Regions from separate parts of the Homo sapiens genome. Here all the other regions are linked to region 4. Evidence: promoter capture Hi-C in 16 types of primary human blood cells and fetal thymus (Javierre and others, 2016). All regions are on one chromosome and are shown on one strand. The core of a region is centred on a gene start or on the middle of the fragment in contact, and the rest is flanking DNA. Distances in the headings are between cores, read along the strand shown.

Region 1 (3,301 bases), core at 765-3,264, 420 kb before region 4:
CCTCCTTAGGCAGGCACCTCTGCTGCCTGTTACTCAACACAGAAAGGTTGGGGCGGGAGACCACATGTCTTTAGAGGCTGCCATTACTATGCCAGCACAACTGACAACCATGAGAGTTAACCTAGGGTCCCTTCTTTTCCTTCAATCCACTGCCTGGAGCCTGCAGCTCCTCAGAGCCTTTCCACTCTGCATAGGTACCCCCTCCTTTATGTGTTTTGGCTGCAATTTCCTCCTTCATCCAGTCTCATATCTCTGACAGGGATCTCAGATTCCAGTTTACCTGGGACACCTCTGGTTAGGACCCAGCAACATTATTAAAGTTTTTCTATCGCTTTCCTGCCACCTCTAGAGGCCTGGGATGGACGTTGAAGGCTTATGCATATGTTCAGTCCACCATCATGACCCAATATTGACCCTTCTGCGTTCCATCTTCTAAAAATGCCTCAAATGTCCCGCCCCCTTGACTCCACTTTTTCTCAGTTTCCAACCCTGTTGATTTCCATTATGCTTTTAATATATCTTTGCTGCTATTTTAATAGAATTTTGAGCATGTGTTCAATCCACTATCTTGAATGGAAAGTTTCTAAAGTGGCCTGTGACTCAGGAAGAAGACTGTGATTAATGGGCGAGAATGAAAATCATTGCTCAATCCCTTGACTTAAATCCCCACCACAACACCTGACCTACAAAACCTGCCCATACTTGAATATTCCAAGTGATGCAGCATTCACTACTCAAAATATTAGCTGGTGTACATATTACAGACCCAGCATCTCTCCCTCTAGTTGACCATGACCTCTGAAATTCACACTCTGATCCTATCTATTTCCTTTCAGTTACCGTGCAGATGTCAGGAAGCACTTGTTAAGACTATTACCTGAAGTGTACTCAGAGGCAGAGTAAATGCTGGGTCCCGGAGCAGACAGGAGAGAGGACCTGGGAGTTTTTTAGTAAGATGGGGAGGAGGAGATAGGCTATGGCTTGGACCAGGCCTGGAAGAGAGCTCAGGTGTGCAGTCTCTAGGAACCCGGGTGGAGAAGCAGCAGGAAATAAGCAGAAAAAGGAGACAGGCCATGAAGATAGAAGCGCAATGGTCCTGGATTCAAATCTCCACTCTGCAGCTTATAGCTTACAGTCCGCTTAGCTTTGTGCCCATTCCAAGAGGATTTCCCTATTGTAGCTTTACAATGTTTTAATATGTAGTATTGTTGTGCAAGGTACCATCCTAAACTGACTGACTTTCCTTCCTCCTTCTCCTCCAAAATAATTTTTAATTCTTGCAGACAGACTTTAGATCGTGTGTTTGAAGTTTTTAAAGATGGAATTTTTATTGGAACTGCATTACACGTATAAATTATTTAGGAAGAGTTGGCTTCTGAAGAGGGCAGCTCTGTGGGCTTGGGCTGGGTTTGAATCCAGCCAGACAACTTTCCAGCTGTGTTACCTTGGACAGTTACCTAGTTCCTCTGTACCTTGACTTCCTCATCTGTCAAATGGGTGATGATAATAGCACCTACACCATGGTCGTTGGGAGGAGTCAGTGAGAGTCTCCAAGTGTGCTTTATTATCGTTGGTGGTGGTAGTGGTGTTTAGAACGCATCCCTCAGTCAGACAGCGAGGTAGGACTTCTCCGTTTATTAAATCCTGACCTTTTTTTTCCATGTAAAACCTGCACGTTTCTGAAATGCTCAGAGTACGTTACTCAGTATGTACCCATATGTTCTGTGGGTATACTTTGTTAGGTTGTGATTAGTTCGTTGGAGCTGGTGGTTGCAGGGACGGCTGGAAGCAAGGAGATGAAGGAGAGGAAGTCGTAGCTGGGAAGGGGACCAGGAAGTGGGTGTCAGGTCCAAGAGCTGCTAGAAAGAAACGAAACTGAAAGCAGGGAATTTCCCAAGTTTGGGGAAGACAGGAACTGCAGCGCCCCTCCCCGTTTCACGCCACGCGCGGGACCGAGGACCTAGGACCTGGCCAGCTGGGCGTGGTTCGGAGAGCCGGGCGGGAAAACGAAACCAGAAATCCGAAGGCCGCGCCAGAGCCCTGCTTCCCCTTGCACCTGCGCCGGGCGGCCATGGACTTGTACAGCACCCCGGCCGCTGCGCTGGACAGGTTCGTGGCCAGAAGGCTGCAGCCGCGGAAGGAGTTCGTAGAGAAGGCGCGGCGCGCTCTGGGCGCCCTGGCCGCTGCCCTGAGGGAGCGCGGGGGCCGCCTCGGTGCTGCTGCCCCGCGGGTGCTGAAAACTGTCAAGGTGAGGTCCCACCTCGGGGTCTTTATGTGTCCAAAGGGGAGTCCTGGGAGGACGCTTAAGCCTCACATAGGCTTACGGTGGGGGTGGCTTTATCCGCTTGTGCACCTCATTCATTTCTTTAACAAATACTTCCAATGTGCCAGCCCCGTGCTAACTCCCCCGAACATACGAGCCAGGTAGGTACTCTTAAGCCCGCTTGACAGATAGAGAAAATGAGGCACAGAGAGGTACAGTGACGTGTCCGATCCTGTAAGAGGCCCAGCCAGGATTCAAATCCAAGTAGCCTGATTCCTGCATCTCTACTCTCAGAGGCTGCTTCTTATCCATTCATTCACTCATTCACTCATTCTCCCAGTCATTCAAACAGACTGTGGGCCTCACACTATGCCAGACCTTAAGGTTACAGAAGTAATAACACTCCGCGTAACAGCCAGAGTAGCCCAATTTATTGAGACATTATCAAATAACAATGAAAATTATCTCATTAAATGAGTATTACCTCATTTCATCCCCACGTTCAGTGAGGCAGGTATTATTGTACCTGTTTTATGGATAGGGAAACTGAGGCTAGACGCTAAATTACTACTCTGAGTCACATCTTTTTTTTTTTTTTTTTTTTTTTTTTTTTTTGAGACAGGGTCTCGCTCTGTCACCCAGGCTGGAGTGCAGTAGCATGATCTTGGCTCACAGCAACCTCCGCCTCCTGGGCTCAAGTTATTCTCACACCTCAGCCTCCCAAGTAGCTGGCACTACAGGTGCACACTACCATGCCTGGCTAATTATTTGCATTTTTTGTAGAGATAGAGTTTTGCCGTGTTGCCCAGGCTGGCCTGGAACTCCTGGGCTCAAGTGATCCACTTGCCTTGGCCTTTCAAAGTGCTGGGATTACAGGTGTGAGCCACCATGCCCAGGTAATTTTTGCATTTTTTGTAGAGACGGGATTTCACCATGTTGCCCAGGCTCCGGGTCACTTTTTGTCACTTAAATACAGCCACACTGCCACTGTGATCCCAGGACACTCGCAGATTCAGGGAGGAGACAAGTCATGAGCTA
Region 2 (3,488 bases), core at 385-2,884, 320 kb before region 4:
GGAGGGAGGTTTGAATGCAGTCTAATTCCATGATGGTCTGCTCCCTGGTGAATGATTTTGCATCTTGAGGTCTTTTGTTTCTCTAAGGTCATAAATATACAGGAAACCAAGAAGCCTCTGGCCTCGTAGAAAAAGTGGCTATAGCACCATGAGCAGTAGACAAGGCCAACTCCATGATTTGTGAGGCCCAGTGCAAAAAGAAAATGCAGGACCCCTTGTTGAAAAAGTCTCAAGAGTTTAAAGACTGGCTGGGCACGGTGGCTCACGCCTGTAATCCCAGCACTTTGGAAGGCCAAGGTGGGAGGATCACTTGAGGACAAGAGTTGGAGACCAGCCTGGGCAACATAGTGAGACCCCATCTCTACAAAAAATTTAACAATTTAGGTGGCTGTGGTGACATGAGTCTGTAGTCCCAGCTATTTAGGAGGTCGAGGAGGGAGGCTCGCTTGAGCCCAGGAGATCGAGGGTGCAGTGAGCCATGACTGTACTGCCGCACTCCAGCCTGGGTGATACAGCGAGACTCTGTCTCAAAACAAACAAACAAACAAACAAACAAAAAGTGTTAAGGCTATACCACCAGAGTGTTTAACCAAGGGCACTTCTGACTGAAGGGCTCTGTGTGACACAGTTGGGAAGCTGTCCCTGGCAGTAGCTAAGAACCTAGAGTGTTCAGGTAGAAGTCCAGAAGAAAGAAGAGGTGAGTGAGTGGCCCCCAGGTACCAGTGGGGTTCACATAGCTGAGAGGGACACAATCAACGGATGGACCCAACAGCCATCCCCACGCCTTCTCCCCTGCTGCTTCTCACTGCAGGGGCTGAAAACCTGAGTCTCTTCTCAGAGTCTTTCATAGCTAAAGGGGGCCTTGTGCTGGATCGCGATGCTGACGGATGGGACTGATGGAGAAATCTGCTAGGAGGTTTCAGAGAGTTTTTACTTTCCTGATAAAAGGAACAGCCTCAGCCACCACCACCCGGGTTCCCCTTATTTGCCCTTGATGCAATATCAGGTCTGTAGCTGCGACAGCCATTTAACAAGGACAAGGTGATGTGCATGCGACCCCACACGCTAAGTGTGGCAGTGCAGAAGCACCTGTGTATGTCCTCCATCACACGGTGGGCAGCCCATACAAAGCTAGCACCCGCCCACCTCCAGGTCTGTCTCCTACTGCCACCAAACCCACCTGTCCCCACCCTAACACCACCATCCTCCTTTGGGGCATAAACACCCCAGCCTGCACCCCCACCCAACTGAATTTACCAGGCCCAGGTCAAGCTCCAGCTTAATGCTAACTCATAACTTTTCCTTTTTTTTTTTTTTTTTTTGAGACAGAGTCTCGCTCTGTCGCACAGGCTGGAGTGCAATTGCAATGGCGCAATCTCGGCTCACTGCAACCTCCGCCTTCTGGGTTCAAGCAATTCTCCAGCCTCAGCCTCCCAAGTAGCTGGGATTACAGGCACCTGCCATCATGCCTGGCGTATTTTTAGTAGAGATGGGGTTTCACCATGTTGGCCAGGCTGGTCTCGAACTCCTGACCTCAGGTGATCTATCCACCTTGGCCTCCCAAAGTGCTGGCATTACGGGTGTGAGCCACCGCACCTGGCCCATAACTCTTCTTAAGGGCTCTTGGGAAATCCTGTTGGACTAAATACACTGGGTTACATCCCTATCTTATTTTTCACTCATCCAAAGCAAGCTAGGCTCAGCCCTGGGCATCCTGTCCAAAGCAGAGAGAACAAAAGCAGCTCACTCTTAGAGTGTTCTGTGTGCTCAGCTCGAAGTTTTCATTCATCCTCATTGGATCCTTGCCTATGAGGTAGGTATTTTCATCTCCATCTGACCGAGGGGGAAACTGAGGCTCAGAGCAGCTCTCTAACCCAAGGTCACTGCCCAGGTCTTGATCAGGAAGTATTCCCATGCTCACACCCTGGAATCCTCACTGTATAAGATTTGGGACCTCAACTCCGCTGGACGCTGGGGAGCCTCACTGTCTTCTACCTGCCTCCTCCTGCAGGCAACTAAAGGCTCACAGTCCTCCTGCAGTAAACAGTTCAGAAAGGCCCAGAGCCAAGGCAGAAACTTCATTAGCAAACCACATTTCAGGGGCACTATCGGGCCCTGCTGTTTCAAAGCTGCTCTGAGTCCCAATGTCCCTACTGATGGGCAATGCATGCCCCACTGTCCAGCTTGATTTAGAAGACTGAGATGGCCTCCTCCAGGAAGCCAGCAATGCTGCTCACTGCAGGCTGAGTGAAGAGGGATGGCCAGGGAAAAGAAGGAACCTGCTGCGGGCCCTGATCTGGCCCAGGCGAAGGTGACAAGAGCAGCTGCTATTTACCGAGCACTCACTTCCCTTGTGACAAGACCTGAGATAAGGGCCTCATAGCCCTGAATGCCTCCAAACTGCCCTCTAAGTTGAAGACCATTATTCACATTTTACAAATAGGGAAACTGAGGCCCAGGGAAGTTAAGTCCCTTGCCCAAAGAGCCTGCACAAACAAGCAGCCTGGCAGAATTCTACTCTGGGCCCCCTCAATCTCCAAATTCTCAGCTTTTAATTCTTTAACTCTATGGACTCCCAAAAACCTGGTTTTGGGTAGGACACCCTCTAGCTAAGATGTCACTTCGCACAGAGATAAGGTTATAATGGCCATGGGTAATCAAAAACAAAAATATTGACCAGGCACAGTGGCTCATGCCTGTAATCCCAGTACTTTAGGAGGCGGAGGCAAGCAGATCACTTGAGGCCAGGAGTTTGAGACCAACCTAGCCAACATGATGAAACCGTGTCACTACTAAAAATATAAAAATTAGCTGGGGGTGGTGGGGCACATTTGTAATCCCAGCTACTCAGGAGACTGAGGCAAGAGAATCACTTGAACCTGGGAGGTGGAGGTTGCAGTGAACCGAGATCGCACCACTGCACTCCAGCCTGGGTGACAGAGTGATTCTGTCTCAAAAAAAAGAAGGGAAAGAAAGAAAGAAAGAAAGAAAGAAAGAAAGAAAGAAAGAAAGAAAGAAAGAAAGAGAGAGAGAGAGAGAGAGAGAGAAAGAAAGAAAGAAAGAAAGAAAGAAAGAAAGAAAGAAAGAAAGAAAGAGAAAGAAAGAGAGAGAGAGAAAGAGAGAGAAAGAAAGAAAGAAAGAAAGAGAAAGAAAGAAAGAAGGGAGGGAGGGAGGGAGGAAAGAAAGAAAGAAAGAAAGAAAGAAAGAAAGAAAGAAAGAAAGGAGAAAGAAAGAAAGAGCTGTTCTCCCTTGAATGATAAGAAGCCCCCAAAGTCTTCCCACTGAGCCCTGAAGCCGGGGTGCAGCCCCCCCACCCAGGCTGGGTGCCTCCCATTGCAGTCATGCTGATTTAAGACCCAGAGAAAGACCCTCACCAACGGGGGTTACTTTCAGGACTGCCATAACAAAATACATAGACTGGGTGGCTTAGAAACTACAGAAATGTGGTGCTCATAGTTCCAGAGACTGGCAAATACAAGATCAAGGCG
Region 3 (3,378 bases), core at 761-3,260, 300 kb before region 4:
CCATCCAGTAGTCACTCAACAAACACAGAGGCAGCATGGTGCTATGGGAGGTGCAAAAGCATTTGGGACTCAGACCCTAGCTCTGCCACTTACTCCTTGTGGGAACTTGGGTAAGCTACTTAGCCTTTCTGAGCTTCAGGAGGTTTTTTGTTTCCTTGTGTAAAATGAGGACAACATTACCTTCCTTGTGGGGCAGTTATGAAGAGTAGTAAGTATTATTTAAGTGCCTGGCACATAATAGGCACTCAGTAAATGACACCCTTATGTAATGGGGCACCAGCCACACCACACCAAGATGAATATGATGGCTATCTCACTCTAGCAGGGACAGATTTCATTTAAGAGGCTAATTGTGATACAGGGTGTCATGTCAAGGTATGGGCAAAGGAACACAGAGGAAGATGGGGTGAATTCAGGAAAGGCTTCCTGGAGGAGGTGACATTTAATCAGACCTTAAATAGCATTCGACAGGAAGTCCAGAGACACGAGTTCTTCTTTCCAATTTGCTGCTAAATCACCATGCGACCTTGAGCCAATCTCTTCTCCACTGTGGGATCCCCAGATCCTTCTACAACATAAGCTGGTTGAGCACCTGCTCTGAATCCGTTCAGTCACAGTCTCCTGTGAGAAGAATCTGCTGACAGCCAGAGCCCTTCTTCCCAGACATACAAGACACACAATGCCTAGACACACAAGTTTGCCTGTAATGGGAGAGGGGGACTTCATGGACCCCAGAAGGCCATCCAGGGACCCTAGGCTAAAATCCCAGAACTCAGTGATCCTGTGGGAGTATCGTCAGACTTGGCCCTGCCCTATGCAAAGCCTCTCTCTTTAGTCTACAGCAGGTGAAAGCAAGCAGAATCATTGACCCAATCTGAAAAAGCCCATCCAACACTGGGCTGCAGGTCAGAGCAGGGGCCTGGGGAGGGGAGGTCCCTCCAGCTGGCCGGAGAGCCAGAGCTGGATTCTGGGAAAGCACCCCTGAGCAGCCTGCCCCTGACCCTGCCTAGTGTATCCCCATCTGCCCCGGGGAGGCAGGCGTGGGCTGCTCTGGGCAGGCGCCCAAACAGGCCACTGACCCCCGTCAGCCACCCAGGCTGGAGTTCCCGGACGCATCCTTCATCTTCCCCAATCTAAACACCCCCAGGCCCCAGGTGGTCCACCCCCCTCCCAGCCAATGTGTGTCTCAGCCGCATCCAGCTTGCTGGAGGACAGGGGGACTGGCCATCCCGTTAACACTTGAGCCGCTGCCATTTCCAGCCTTCCCTTCCATCCAACCAATGCTCACCCACCATTTATTGAGCACCAGTTGTTTGCAGGTGGCTGTGAATGACATGGCAGAGGGCCTGCCCTTCTCTTCCTCCAGGATCTCACCTCCTGGCCAGGGTCCCCTCCCCTGGTCCCACCCCTCTCACCTGGAGCAGGTGGGTGCTTTGGGGGAAGTGGGCTCAGGGCTGGGAACTGGGTACTGGCAGGAGATTCAGATCGGGGTTGGTGTCTGGGCATCGCTCTAAGCTTTTGTGATCCTGGGCCTGGCTCTTACTCTCTCTGGCTTCAGTCTCCTCATCTGTACTCTTCAGATTCCACGGTTCCAACTGAGTCTGAATCAGGCCTTGTCAGCACCCTCCCACCCCCAGGAATAGTTAGAGGAGGAAAGGAGGCTAGCTCTGAATGCTTCAAGATCTTTCTTTAGACAGTCTCTGGATCTTATTCATTCATTCAAGCATTTATTGAGCACCTATTCAGTGCCAGGCCCTGGACTGGGAGACTGGAAATAAAGATGACAAAGATTCAAGCCGGTGACTCCTAAACATCCCACTCCCTGCCTCACGCTCTGCTTGGGGTCAGAAGGCCCCTTGGGGTCTCGGGAGGGCCTGGCCGAGGATTTGGGGCGCCCCGAGACTCGCGTGTCAGCGCCGGTGGCGCTCAGGGCCGAGATCTGTCTCCTCCCCTTCCTCCTCCTCCGCCCCCTCCCCTCTCCCTCCCGGAGCACGGCCGAGGCCTCCTCCCACCCGCGAGATCCCGGCGGCCGCCAGCCGGCTCCTGCGTCCGTCCGTCGGCCGGGCAGTCTGTCCACGCGCGGAAAGCTCGGCGCGGCGGCCGAGGGGCCTGGGAGGGAACGGGCGCGGAGGCGGGACCGCGGCTCCCTCCCACTCCGGGGGGAGCCCAGGAGGCGGCGGTGCTGGAGCGCGAGCCGGAGCCGGAGCCGGAGACGAAGAGAGGCGGTGAGAACGCGGGTGCTTAGGGACCCCACCCCCGGCTCCCGCTGGGGGCCCGCGAGCGGCTCGGGGACGTCTGGGCTGGGGAAGCGGGGCTGTTACCCCCAGGGCGGGAGGCAGAGACGATCCAGCTCCTGGCTTCGCCCCCTCCGCGACGCGACCCCCGAGGGGCCCTGGGCCGCGCCTGCAGCGCCGCGCATCCCCGTGCTTCCCGGCGCACCCCAGCGCACCCGGCATCCCCCCGGCAGGGCGAGGGCCCCGGGGGAAGGGAAGGCTCCGGGAGCCAAGGAGGGCGCCCCCCAGGCGGAGAGTCTCGGAAAACCGCGCCCCCGGCCCCTGCCTTCCCTCCAGGCCTGCCCCAAGGGAAAGCGGGCGGGGCGACCCCGTACGCCCCCCTTGCTGTCCCCCTTCGGTTCCCCATTGTTCTCAGCCGAATGCTCTCCTGGGAAGGGGGGAGGGGGTGCTGCGCTCTCCTCTTAAAGGGCCCTCTCCCCTCTTGTCTCCTGGCAGGTCGCGAGCACGAGTGGGGTGGGGCGTGCCCACGGGCCCCCGCCCCCCTCGTCCCCCTCGTCCCCCAGCCCAGCTCCGGAGCCGCAGTCCAGGCGCGCCGCCCGAGGGTCCACGCCGCACCCCTCCCCCGTGCGTTCTGCGGCCACCCAGGCCTTCCAGGACACCGTGGAGAGGGAACAAGGGGGCAGGGACGCCCCCTTCGGCAGGAGCCGTCGGAGAAGGGGGCCCAGACCGGAGGGAGGCGAGAAGCCCCACTGAAGCCGGGCGCAGGGTCTGGGACGCAGTTGGGAGTGCAAAGGGCTGGCTGAGAGCCGCAGGAGCAGCAGGCTGTGGCCCAGGCCTCCTGGGTGACAGGCCCTGTCTGGCGGGGAAGAGGGACCAAGAGACAACACGGAAGAGGCTGGACCTCGAACAGGGGCGGCTGCCTCACTCCCTACCTGAGCCAGCCGAGGGGGCCAAGGACTTTAGAGCTGTTTCCTCCGGCATAAGAGAGACACTTGCTTTCCAGGGCAGCACCCTTTATCGGAGAAGGCTCTACAGGGAAGGGGTCTTTGCAGCCTGGATGGCCATCCCACATTCCTTTAACGGAGGTCTCTAGGCCTCAGAGAGAACCCAGAGTTAGAAAGGAGGCCAGACGGTCCTTGCTGTC
Region 4 (3,486 bases), core at 32-2,531:
ATTTTATAGAGACAGAGTCTTGCCAGGTTTCCTAGGCTGGTCTCAAACTCCTGGGCTCAAGCATTCCTCCCACCTTGGCCACCCAAAGTGCTGTGATTACAGGCATGAACCACTCACCTGGCCTTCCCTCTCAAATTTTAAGAGTTCCTGATATATTATATGATATATGTTGAGATATATATACATATATATATGTAATGTATATATATGATATATGTTGCAAATAGTTTCTCCTGGTCTGTCAGATGTCTTTTGACTTTGCTTATTGAGTTTTTTGACATGAAAAAGTTAAAAAATTTATACAGTCAAATGCATTAATCTTTTATTGCATCTAGGTTTTTTTTTTTTTTTTTTTCTTTTGAGACAAGGTCTCATTCTGGTTGCTCAGGCTGGAGTGCAGTGGTGCAATCTCGACTCTCTGCAGCCTCGACCTTCCGGGCTCAGGTGATTTTCCTACCTCAGTCTCCCGAGTAGCTGGGACTATAGGCGCGCCTCACTGCGTCCGGCTACTTTTTTGTATTTTTAGTAGAGACGGGGGTTTCACCATGTTGCCCAGGCTGGTCTTGAACTCCTGAACTCGCCCGCCCTGGCCTCCTGGAGTGTTGGGATTACAGGCGTGAGCCACCGCGCCCGACGGCATCTAGGTTTTGAGTAGTAGTTAGACAGCTTTTTCCCACACACATGTAAAAAGGGTATTTGAGGGACAATGGGAAAAGTTGGAATAAAGACTGCATTAGATAACTGTATTAAATAAATGGCAAATACCATTAAATAAATCTGGCCGGGCGCGGTGGCTCACCCCTGTAATCCCAGCACTTTGGGAGGCTGAGGCAGGCGGATCACCTGAGGTCAGGAGTTCAAGACCAGCCTGGCCAACATGGCGAAACCCCGTCTGTACTGAAATTACATAAATCAGCTGGGCGTGGTGGTGCGCGCCTGTAATCCCACCTACTCAGGAGGATGAGGCAGGAGAATCGCTTGAACCCGGGAGGCGGAGGTGGCAATGAGCCGAGATCGCGTCACTGCACTCCAGTCTGGGCGACATATGGAGGTTTTGTCTTGTCTCAAAAAAAAAAAAAAAAAAAAACTTGGGGAAGTGTGCTAAACCGGGTTTGCGTAGGTGGAAGGGGCGGCCGGGCTCTTTAAGGTGGGTCCCGCCCCGTAGGCCTCCCCTCGCGCCAGCCCCTCCCATCCCGGAAAGGCTCAGCCCAAGCCCGGCCCCGCCCGCCCTCGGCCCCGCCCATGGCAGAGCGCAGTCACGTGACCCGGGCTGCGGGGCGCAGCATTGTGCGGTCATGGTGGGCCAGATGTACTGCTACCCCGGCAGCCACCTGGCCCGGGCGCTGACGCGGGCGCTGGCGCTGGCCCTGGTGCTGGCCCTGCTGGTCGGGCCGTTCCTGAGCGGCCTGGCGGGGGCGATCCCAGCGCCGGGGGGCCGCTGGGCGCGCGATGGGCAGGTCCCTCCAGCCTCCCGCAGCCGCTCGGTGCTCCTGGACGTCTCGGCGGGCCAGCTGCTTATGGTGGACGGACGCCACCCTGACGCCGTGGCCTGGGCCAACCTCACCAACGCCATCCGCGAGACTGGGTAAGGGTTGGCTTATCCCCACGCGGGGCCATCGGGGGAGGGGGATGCGTGGGCGCCGGACCTCGCCTGTTCCCGGGACCGGCCTCTTGCCGGGTGGGAACGCCCGTTTCTCTGGGGGTCAGCTACTCCCGAGGCTGCAGCACCGCCCTGCGGGCCAAGTACCCTGTTTGGGAGCTGGCTACTGCGGCATCCCTCACCTCATGGGGCCAGTCCCTTGCCTTCAGCCAGTGGTGACAGTACTTCTGTCCCCAAGAAGCCAGTTCCCTACCACCGAGGCCGCAGTGCCTGCATCTGGATCAGGTCCATGGCTGGTGGGTAAATTCTATCCTCACGGGGACCTGCTCCCTTCCCTAGACTTTGCCTCCTCACCCCATGGAGGCCAGCCCCCTGTCCCCAGGCCTGAGGGGTGATGAGAACTCAGCAGGAGACTAATTCTTACCTGCTTGGCTGTGGCTTGCTCGTGGGTGCCAGCACCCTGCCTCCCTTCCAGTGCCAGGTCAGCAGGACTGAACCTGGGTTCCAGGCTAGTCCAAAAGCAGAGGGTCCCTAAAGTCACATAGACCCATTTAGTATCCTGCTAGGGCTCTGCTCCTCCCTTGTCTTCTGTGTCCTGGTCCAAGGGGAAGTCCTTGGCTGGATGCCGTGTTTGGCAGCCATGCTCACCATCTTTATTGCTGGAACCCAGGCTGTCATTCTGATGTGTGAGTCTCACCTAACTCCTCCGCCTGTCTGGGCTCCCGTTTCCCCATCTGTGGCCCAGATTTTGAGGATGTGCTCTAGTTGGGTGGTCATGTGCTGCAAGTTCTGTACAAGGGCTTGTGCCCATTCATTTATTCATTACCCTGATGGTTGGCCTTAGGGACACAGCTGAGCAGCTGTCTCTACTCAGTGGGAAACACAGACAGCGATAGAAGAGAAATCAGAGTCAGTGGGAGTGGGAAGGATCAGCTTCAAAGCCTTGTCAGCAGGGCCCAGACGCTGGATCAGGCTGTGCTGGGGGATCCTAGGGAACCCGGGGTGCATCCGTCATATCCTAGTGTCCAGATGATGCTAGGGAACCCTAGCACTAGGATGTGCCCAGGATGTGGTCTGTGCTCAGACCACACTGCCCCCTGCAGCAGAAAGGGCCTCCTCCCACTTTAGCCCCTATCCATTTTACTGGCATCCATTGGCTTCTGCAGGTGTTAGGGAGACACAGGATGCCGAGGACACCCCCATTCTGGTGGCACTTGGGGGGTACATCAAGTAGACGTGAGATTTGGGGGAGATATTTGCACAGACACAGGGGCACTGGTTGGGGTAAATCTGGGAAGGCTCCCAGAGAGAGGAGGCCACAGAGTGAGCTGGCATCTGTGGAGGGAACTGAAGCTTTGTGGCTGGCCTCGGGGGCTGCCGGGACTCTTGGATCTGGTGACCCGTTCTTTGCTGACTCACTCATGTTTTTGGCCCTGCATAGCAGAATCAAGAGGACATGACAGAACTGTTCAGGCGAGGAGGGGCAGGAGCGAGGCCCAGCATGGGGAGGGGGCTTTGGCCTCTGGAGGCCCCTCCTGGGCTGTGTTGCTCTTGACTATGGTAAACATGGAAGTGGAGAGAAGGCTTCCTTGATTGTGCTGGATGGAAAGTTCTTCCAGGCTCAGCCCCTCTGCTGTGTGACCTTGGGCAAATCCCTTCACCTCTCTGAGCATGTTCCCTCATATCAAGGTAGGACCAAAAGGGTCATGGAAATTCACTGGGGTCACAGAAAGCACTGTTTATTTATTTTTATTTGTATTTTATTTTTTGAGACACAGTTTCACTCCGTTGCCCAGCTGGAGTGCAGGGGCACGATATTGGCTCACTGCAACCTCCCCACCCTGGGTTCAAGCGATTCTCGTGTCTCAGCCTCCCAAGTAGCTGGA
Region 5 (3,298 bases), core at 8-2,507, 260 kb before region 4:
GGCGTGCGGCCTGAGCTCGTGGGCCGCCTGGGCCGCTGTGGCCACATGTACCACCTGCTGTGCCTCGTGGCCATGTACTCCAATGGCAACAAGGTGGGTTGGGCGGGACAATGGCTGAGGAGTGGGCAGGGAACGGAGTGGGGTTTGGGGGGGTGCTGGGAACTCACTGCCAGCCTCCCCTGCCCAGGATGGCAGCCTGCAGTGCCCCACCTGCAAGGCCATCTACGGGGAGAAGACGGGTACGCAGCCGCCTGGGAAGATGGAGTTCCACCTCATCCCCCACTCGCTGCCCGGCTTCCCTGATACCCAGACCATCCGCATCGTCTATGACATCCCCACAGGCATCCAGGTGGGCTCCCCTTCCGCCTCTCTGGCCCCCAGCCCCCACACCCCTCCAACTCCTCCAGATGCTTCTCCACCCTGCCACCACCTGTTCATGGTCTAAATCCCTGTACTGTCCCTCTCTGCAGGGCCCTGAGCACCCCAACCCCGGGAAGAAGTTCACCGCAAGAGGATTCCCTCGCCACTGCTATCTACCCAACAACGAGAAAGGCCGGAAGGTGGGTGCCCAGCCGTGAGGGCATGGGAGATAGGCACAGGCAGGGGCTCCAGCAACCACTGGCCTGGGCCTGTGGTCCCCATCATTCCCAATCCCTGCTCTCACATTCCTCCCAAAAGCAGCACCCGAACAGTAACGACCACAGCCACCTCCTTCACACATCTTATCTCGTTTCCTGAGCCACTGAGGTCAAGATCCTGACCCCATTTTATAGACAAAGACACAAGGCTTCAGAAAGGGCAAGTCACTTGACTGTGGTCACAGAGAAACTAAGTGGCGGAGCTGGGATTTGAGCCCAGGCAGTCCAAGCTGTCACCACCACCCTACAGGTTGTCTGATTTGACTTTCTGCTTTTCAAGAGCACCAAGAAATCCAGATTTTCATGGGAAATCTCTAGGCTTTTGAATGTTAGTAACTAATTTACAAGTGGCTCTTTAATATAGTGTGGAGTCCAAACTAAATAGAGCAGAGAGCTGCCAGATGCTTTCTTCACCCCAGAAAAAAACAGGCAGGGCCGGGTGTGGTGGCTCATGCCTCTAATCCCAGCACTTTGGGAGGCTAAGGCGGGCAGATCACGAGATCAGGAGTTTGAGACCAGCCTGGACAACATGGTGAAACCCCGTCTCTACTAAAAATACAAAAATTATCCGGAGTGGTGGAGTGCGCCTGTAGTCCCAGCTACCTGGGAGGCTGAGGCAGGAGAATTGCTTGAACTCAGGAAGCAGAGGTTGCACTGAGTCGAGATCACCCCACTGCACTCCAGCCTGGGTGACAGAGCAAGACTCCATCACAAAAAAAAAAACAGGCAGGCCAAGCGCAGTGGTGCACACCTGTAATCCCTGCACTTGGGGAGGCCGAGGTGGGAGGATCACTTGAGGCCAGGAGTTTGAGACCAATCTGGGCAACATAGTGAGACTTGGAGAGGCTGATGTGGGACGATTGTTGGAGCCCAGGAGTTCGAGGCTGCAGTGAGCTCTGGTTGCACTGCTGCACTCCAGCCTGAGCAACACAGCAAGACTCTGCCTCAAAAAAAAAAAAAAAAAAAAAAAGAAAAAGAAAAAAAAGAAAAGGAAAGAAAAGAAAAGAAAAAACAAACATAAGTAACTTGGAAAGAGCTTTTACTGGAAGTTCAGGAAATACAAATGCAAAGGAAATGGCCAAGCCAGCAGTACGTAGTTGGTGCTAATGGACGAAGCCATAAGGTAGCCATGATGTGGCAGGGGAGGGAGGGAGGCTGAGGCTGGTGGGCTGGAAGCTGCCTGTGACCTCCTCCCGGCCCCACTGTGTCCCTGTCCCCCCAGGTGCTGCGGCTGCTCATCACGGCCTGGGAGAGAAGACTCATCTTCACTATCGGCACGTCCAACACCACGGGCGAGTCGGACACCGTGGTGTGGAACGAGATCCACCACAAGACCGAGTTTGGATCCAACCTCACGGGCCACGGCTACCCGGACGCTAGCTACCTAGACAACGTGCTGGCTGAGCTCACAGCCCAGGGCGTATCCGAGGCTGCAGCCAAGGCTTGAGGCCCAAGGCTGCCCACCTTCCCTCCTGCTTTGCCCCTGGTCCGGCAAATGCCTCCTTCGCCAGGTGTGTCCTGGTAGCCCAGGTTCAGGGCTGGGGAGGAGCCTGCGGAAGGGGCCGCAGCCATTCAGGGGACCTGCCTGGTGGCAGCTGGGATGAAGAGAGATGGCATGTCAGGCTGGCCCCGAATCATAGCTCCCTGAGAGGGCCAAGCAGAGAGTACTGGAAACCTCCCTACCAAAAAGACAGAGACCCGCCCCCTCACACACAAACACACATGTCCTGTTGAACTCATGCACGCACACCCACGTGCCTGTACTTGCCCCCAGGCTGGAAGAGAAGAGACAGAAAGACCCCATGACCCCCCCATGTGGATCCCCATCTGTGTCTCAGTTGCATCTGTACAGCCTTGTCTGCAAACTGGAGGATGCGGGGCAAGCCCTTAGGGGCCTGCCAGGGCTCGGGGGGCAAAGAGGGACTCGGGAAACTCAGTGTACCCCAGATGCCTCACCCATTCCGTGTCATCACCCATGTCTGCCACCCACTGATTGGGCAATTGTGGGCCCATGGGGTGGAAGCCCCCAGATGACTGAGCAGTTCTACAAAAGAATGGCCAGCACGAGCGGGGACTAGAGGGTCCTGATTTTGTGTCTGTGCCTCTTCATCTCTCTGGACTCTGATCTCCTTCTCCCTTCCCATCTCCAGGCCTTCTGTCTGTCCCAGATAAAGGCGCTGTTCTCCCATCCTCCCTACCCCATCCTCTCCACCAAATCGCTCCCAATTTTGAGAGCCAAAGGCTGGCGCTTCTGACTTCAGGAGCGAAAGGAGGAGGCCTAGTTTGGGCCGATGTATTTTAAAGCAGAGTGGACAGCAGAGAGTCAATTTCCCTTTCGTTGGGAGTGGGCAGTGGGGTGGCTAATTGTCTTCGGCCAACCAGGGGCCTGTTGCCCAGGCAACTCACCAGCTCCGCCTCTGCTGATTGGCTGCCACGGTGGGAGTCAGCCAAGATTTAAAGGGATGCCAGCGATTGCTCTTTTCAAAACCTACCAGTCCCACTGTGGGTGGAGAAATAAATGGTCTTTCTCCTCCTCGCCTGGTCTTTTCCTGCCAAGAGAGGGGTGGGTGGCTCTGTTCCTGGGGGCTGCAGTCAGCCCCGTTGGGGAGTGATGGCTTGCAAGAGAATGACTTCAGGGTCCTTGCCTCGGGCTGGAAGGG
Region 6 (3,306 bases), core at 246-2,745, 380 kb before region 4:
GCCTCCATGTTCTCATCTGAAAAAGGAACCTTAGGACTACGCCTGCCCAGCCTGCCTACCTCTCGGTGTTGCAGTAAAAGTTGGATAAGGGCAGGAAAGGCCCTTAATGAGCATGTGCATTAATCGAGGTTTTTCCAGAACTAACAGGGTATTTATATTTATTTTGAGGTATTTATTTTAAGGAATTGGCTCATGTGATTGTGGAGGCTGGCAAATCCAAAATCGGCAGGGTAGACTGGCAGGTGGGAGACCCAGGAAGGAGTTGCTGCTGCAAGTGGAGGCCAAGGCACTGCAGCCGAATTCCCTCTTCCTTGGGGGAGCTCAGTCTTTAGTCTATTAAGGCCTTCAACTGATTGAATCAGGCCCACCACCTTACAGATGATAATCCACTTTACTCAAAAAAAAAGTCTACCAATGTAAATGTTAATCTTATCTTTAAAAAATACCTTCACAAAAAGATCTAGGATAATGTTTGACCAAATATCTGGGTACCTGGGCTCAGCCAACTTGACACATAAAATTAACCATCCCAGTATGGAAGGGCCCTGGTCCCCCACTACATCTTGGAGATTTTTGCCTTCTCTGTGAATTATTATTGCTGGGCCAAGGCAGCTGGCTGGGAGTCCTCTGCGAGTTTTGTTTTCAAAGCTCTGGGCACAGGAGTTGCATGTCTGTCTCCTTTCTGGCTCACACACTTGGGGTGTGTTTTCTTGCCCTTGCGAGGCTGGACAAGTGCCTCATACGGTCCCTCGGCTGTCCACAAGTGTGCTGAGAAACTGGACACACAGAGGTTCCCACCCGCTGACCACACGGGGGCCTGTGTTTACCCAGAAGCAGACCAAAACCTGAGTCCAGCTAGGTCCCTGCTTTGCTGTGTGTCCCTGAGCAAGTCAGTTCCCTCTCTGGGTCTCTTTTTCCTCTCTGCCGCTTTCCCTGAATGTGAGTTCCCTGGCCACTGAGAACAGGGGGAAAGGGACAGAGCCTCAAAAGATGACCTGTGCGCCCCTGCTTCTAAGCACTTTGCAGGTATTATTTAATCATCAAGCTAATCCTACGAGAGAGCTGCCATTTTCCCCCAGCTTACAGATGGGGGAATTGAGGCGCGAAGAGGGCAGGCGATGTGCTCAAGGACAGACATCTAGCAGGTATGAAGCCCTCACAATGGGGTTCTAGAGGCTGTTTAGTTAACCTCAAGTTTTGGGGAGCCCCTGAAGGGCTGGTCACCACGCTGCCGGGGACAGGGAAAGCCTCTGAGCTTGAGTCAGTTTTGGTTTCCCTGCTGGGGTGCAGGAGTCAGTAAACCTTGCTGCAAGGGGCGGGGAAGAGCATTTGAGCTTAAGTTAGTTTTGGTTTCCCTGCCCCGGATGCAGGAGTTGGTAAACTCACTGCAAGGGGCAGGGCAGAGCCTCTGAGCTTAAGTTAGTTTTGTTTCCCTGTCCCGGATACAAGAGTTGGTAAGCTCGCTGCAGTGGGTGGAGAGAGGCCTCTAGACTTCAGTTTCAGTTTCCTGGCTCTGGGCAGCAGCAAGAATTCCTCTGCCTCCCATCCTACCATTCACTGTCTTGCCGGCAGCCAGCTGAGAGCAATGGGAAATGGGGAGTCCCAGCTGTCCTCGGTGCCTGCTCAGAAGCTGGGTTGGTTTATCCAGGAATACCTGAAGCCCTACGAAGAATGTCAGACACTGATCGACGAGATGGTGAACACCATCTGTGACGTCCTGCAGGAACCCGAACAGTTCCCCCTGGTGCAGGGAGTGGCCATAGTGAGTCCAGGGCTGAGGTTGGGTCTCTGGGAGGCAGGAGATTCCACGGCGGCAGCAAGGCCGAGCTACTGGGTGCTGGGTGCCTATTATGTGCGAGGCCCACACTTGGGTGGGATGTGGTGTAGGAGTCTCAGGCTCTGGAGCAGGCGCTTGCTCCAGAGCTGTGTGACACTGGGCAGGCTACTTAACCTCTCTGTGCCTCAGTCTCTGACTCTGTAAAATGGGGAGAGGCATAATACCCACTTCAGAGTATCGTAAGGCTTGAGCACATCATGTTCTTAGCAAAAGACTGGCAGTGCTCAGTGAATTCACTGTGATTACTCACTGCGATTTTCTTCTATCCTCTCCACAGTACAGAGGAGTAAACTTAGGGAGGCTAGAGAACTTTGTTCAAACTACCCAGGTTGCCTTGTGGTTTCTCCGCAGCAAGAAGGAGTGGCTTTTATCAGTTAGAAATATTTGGTTTTGTGGACACAAATCTCAGGACTGAGGCTGAAAATTCTGGACCTCTGGGGAGGAAGGGGGACTGGGGAGATGCCAGGACCCTAGAATTGGGGGCGTGGGGGTCCTGATGGCCCAATACTATCCTCTTAGCCTCCTGAGCTGCTGACGTCCCTTCTCTGCTGCTGCCACACTTTTTGGTCTCTACCCCTTGCACACATCCGCTAGTGCCTCAATAAAGAAATCTAGACACGTGGTGTCCCCAGCCCTGGCCCAGGCCAGCAAGCTAAGGCAAGTTTGGTTAATAGCTATTGTCAGAACTGGGATTTTAAGCCTGGGTAATTGGCTTGAGGGCATGCATGTTTAACCACTACACTATCCTGCCTCTCAATTTTTTTTTCCTCATGGAAGTAAAACAGAAAAAGTGCCCAGATCAAAGTGTCCAGCTTGATAGGTAGCCACAAACAATGTAACTGTGTAACCCCCACCCAGATCCAGAAACAAAACATTCTCAGCCCCCCAGAGCCCTGGGCCCCCGATCCAGTCAGCACCTCCAAACCCAGGTAGGCAATCTCCTGACTTCTAACAGCATAGACACGTTTTGCCTGTTTTTAAACGTTTTACAATTATAGGGTGACCAACTATCCCAGTTCATCCAAGATTGGGGTGTTTCCTGGGATGTGGGACTCTTGGTGTGAAAGCTGGGAATGTAAACCAGGATGCATGGGTGAACCCTACATAAATGGCATCATGGGCTCTGTGTGCTTTAGTGCGTGGTTTCTCTGACCTATGATGTTTATGAAATTTATGTTGTGGGGTACAGTTGTTTATCTTTTCATTGTTGTGTCAATTCCATTATGTGAATATTCCACATTTGTCCATTCTACTGTGTTTTTTTATTTTTACATAATTGTGCATATTTATATGGGGTACATGTGATATTTGGACACATGGATACAATGTGAAATGATCAGGGTAGTTAGGATATCCATCACCTCAAACATTGATCATTTATTTGTGTTGAGAACAGTTCAGATCTTCTCTTCTAACTATTTTGAAATATATAATAAATTATTGTTAACTATAGTCACCCCATTGTGCTA

Evidence for each region. The method cuts DNA at HindIII sites, captures the fragments that hold promoters and counts their contacts. A CHiCAGO score of 5 or more calls a contact.
Region 1: a contact is called between the fragment with the promoter of OAS3 here and the fragment with the promoter of PLBD2 in region 4, in 4 of 17 cell types (total CD4 T cells, activated CD4 T cells, naive CD8 T cells and 1 more). The highest score is 7.0, in total CD4 T cells.
Region 2: a fragment that was not itself captured here is called in contact with the fragment with the promoter of PLBD2 in region 4 in 2 of 17 cell types (naive B cells and total CD4 T cells); the score reaches 5.6 in naive B cells.
Region 3: a contact is called between the fragment with the promoter of DTX1 here and the fragment with the promoter of PLBD2 in region 4, in 4 of 17 cell types (naive CD4 T cells, activated CD4 T cells, naive CD8 T cells and 1 more). The highest score is 7.2, in naive CD4 T cells.
Region 5: a fragment that was not itself captured here is called in contact with the fragment with the promoter of PLBD2 in region 4 in 1 of 17 cell types (fetal thymus); the score reaches 5.2 in fetal thymus.
Region 6: a contact is called between the fragment with the promoter of OAS2 here and the fragment with the promoter of PLBD2 in region 4, in 5 of 17 cell types (naive CD8 T cells, activated CD4 T cells, total CD4 T cells and 2 more). The highest score is 6.8, in naive CD8 T cells.

Annotation. Positions count from the first base shown.
Region 1 is chr12:112,936,460-112,939,760 of GRCh38, forward strand. OAS3 (2'-5'-oligoadenylate synthetase 3) reads left to right here and starts at 2,015. Exons shown (of 16, transcript NM_006187.4): 1 at 2,015-2,248. The coding sequence starts at 2,072. RefSeq lists enhancers at 1,634-1,803, 1,698-2,007, 1,971-2,140, 2,564-2,733 and a silencer at 2,228-2,317. The HindIII fragment of the contact is 11,275 bases long and covers 1-3,301 here.
Region 2 is chr12:113,035,813-113,039,300 of GRCh38, forward strand. No RefSeq gene overlaps it. Among named protein-coding and RNA genes, the nearest start is that of DTX1, 19 kb to the right of the region's middle. The HindIII fragment of the contact is 3,927 bases long and covers 1-3,488 here.
Region 3 is chr12:113,054,720-113,058,097 of GRCh38, forward strand. DTX1 (deltex E3 ubiquitin ligase 1) reads left to right here and starts at 2,011. Exons shown (of 10, transcript NM_004416.3): 1 at 2,011-2,225; 2 at 2,730-3,378. RefSeq lists an enhancer at 3,249-3,378. The HindIII fragment of the contact is 5,893 bases long and covers 1,514-3,378 here.
Region 4 is chr12:113,357,306-113,360,791 of GRCh38, forward strand. It overlaps PLBD2 (phospholipase B domain containing 2), which reads left to right and starts at 1,282. Exons shown (of 12, transcript NM_173542.4): 1 at 1,282-1,585. The coding sequence starts at 1,296. It overlaps LOC105369989 (a long non-coding RNA gene), which reads right to left and starts at 2,205. Exons shown (of 3, transcript XR_945346.3): 1 at 2,025-2,205. RefSeq lists silencers at 1,096-1,595, 1,646-1,705 and an enhancer at 2,041-2,540. The HindIII fragment of the contact is 3,133 bases long and covers 1-2,951 here.
Region 5 is chr12:113,094,855-113,098,152 of GRCh38, forward strand. It overlaps DTX1 (deltex E3 ubiquitin ligase 1), which reads left to right. Exons shown (of 10, transcript NM_004416.3): 7 at 1-93; 8 at 188-349; 9 at 471-560; 10 at 1,861-3,171. The coding sequence ends at 2,085. Among named protein-coding and RNA genes, the nearest start is that of RASAL1, 39 kb to the right of the region's middle. RefSeq lists an enhancer at 2,638-3,179. The HindIII fragment of the contact is 6,635 bases long and covers 1-3,298 here.
Region 6 is chr12:112,977,024-112,980,329 of GRCh38, forward strand. OAS2 (2'-5'-oligoadenylate synthetase 2) reads left to right here and starts at 1,496. Exons shown (of 10, transcript NM_002535.3): 1 at 1,496-1,762. The coding sequence starts at 1,586. RefSeq lists enhancers at 1,041-1,850, 2,071-2,150, 2,321-2,400, 2,511-2,660. The HindIII fragment of the contact is 12,087 bases long and covers 1-3,306 here.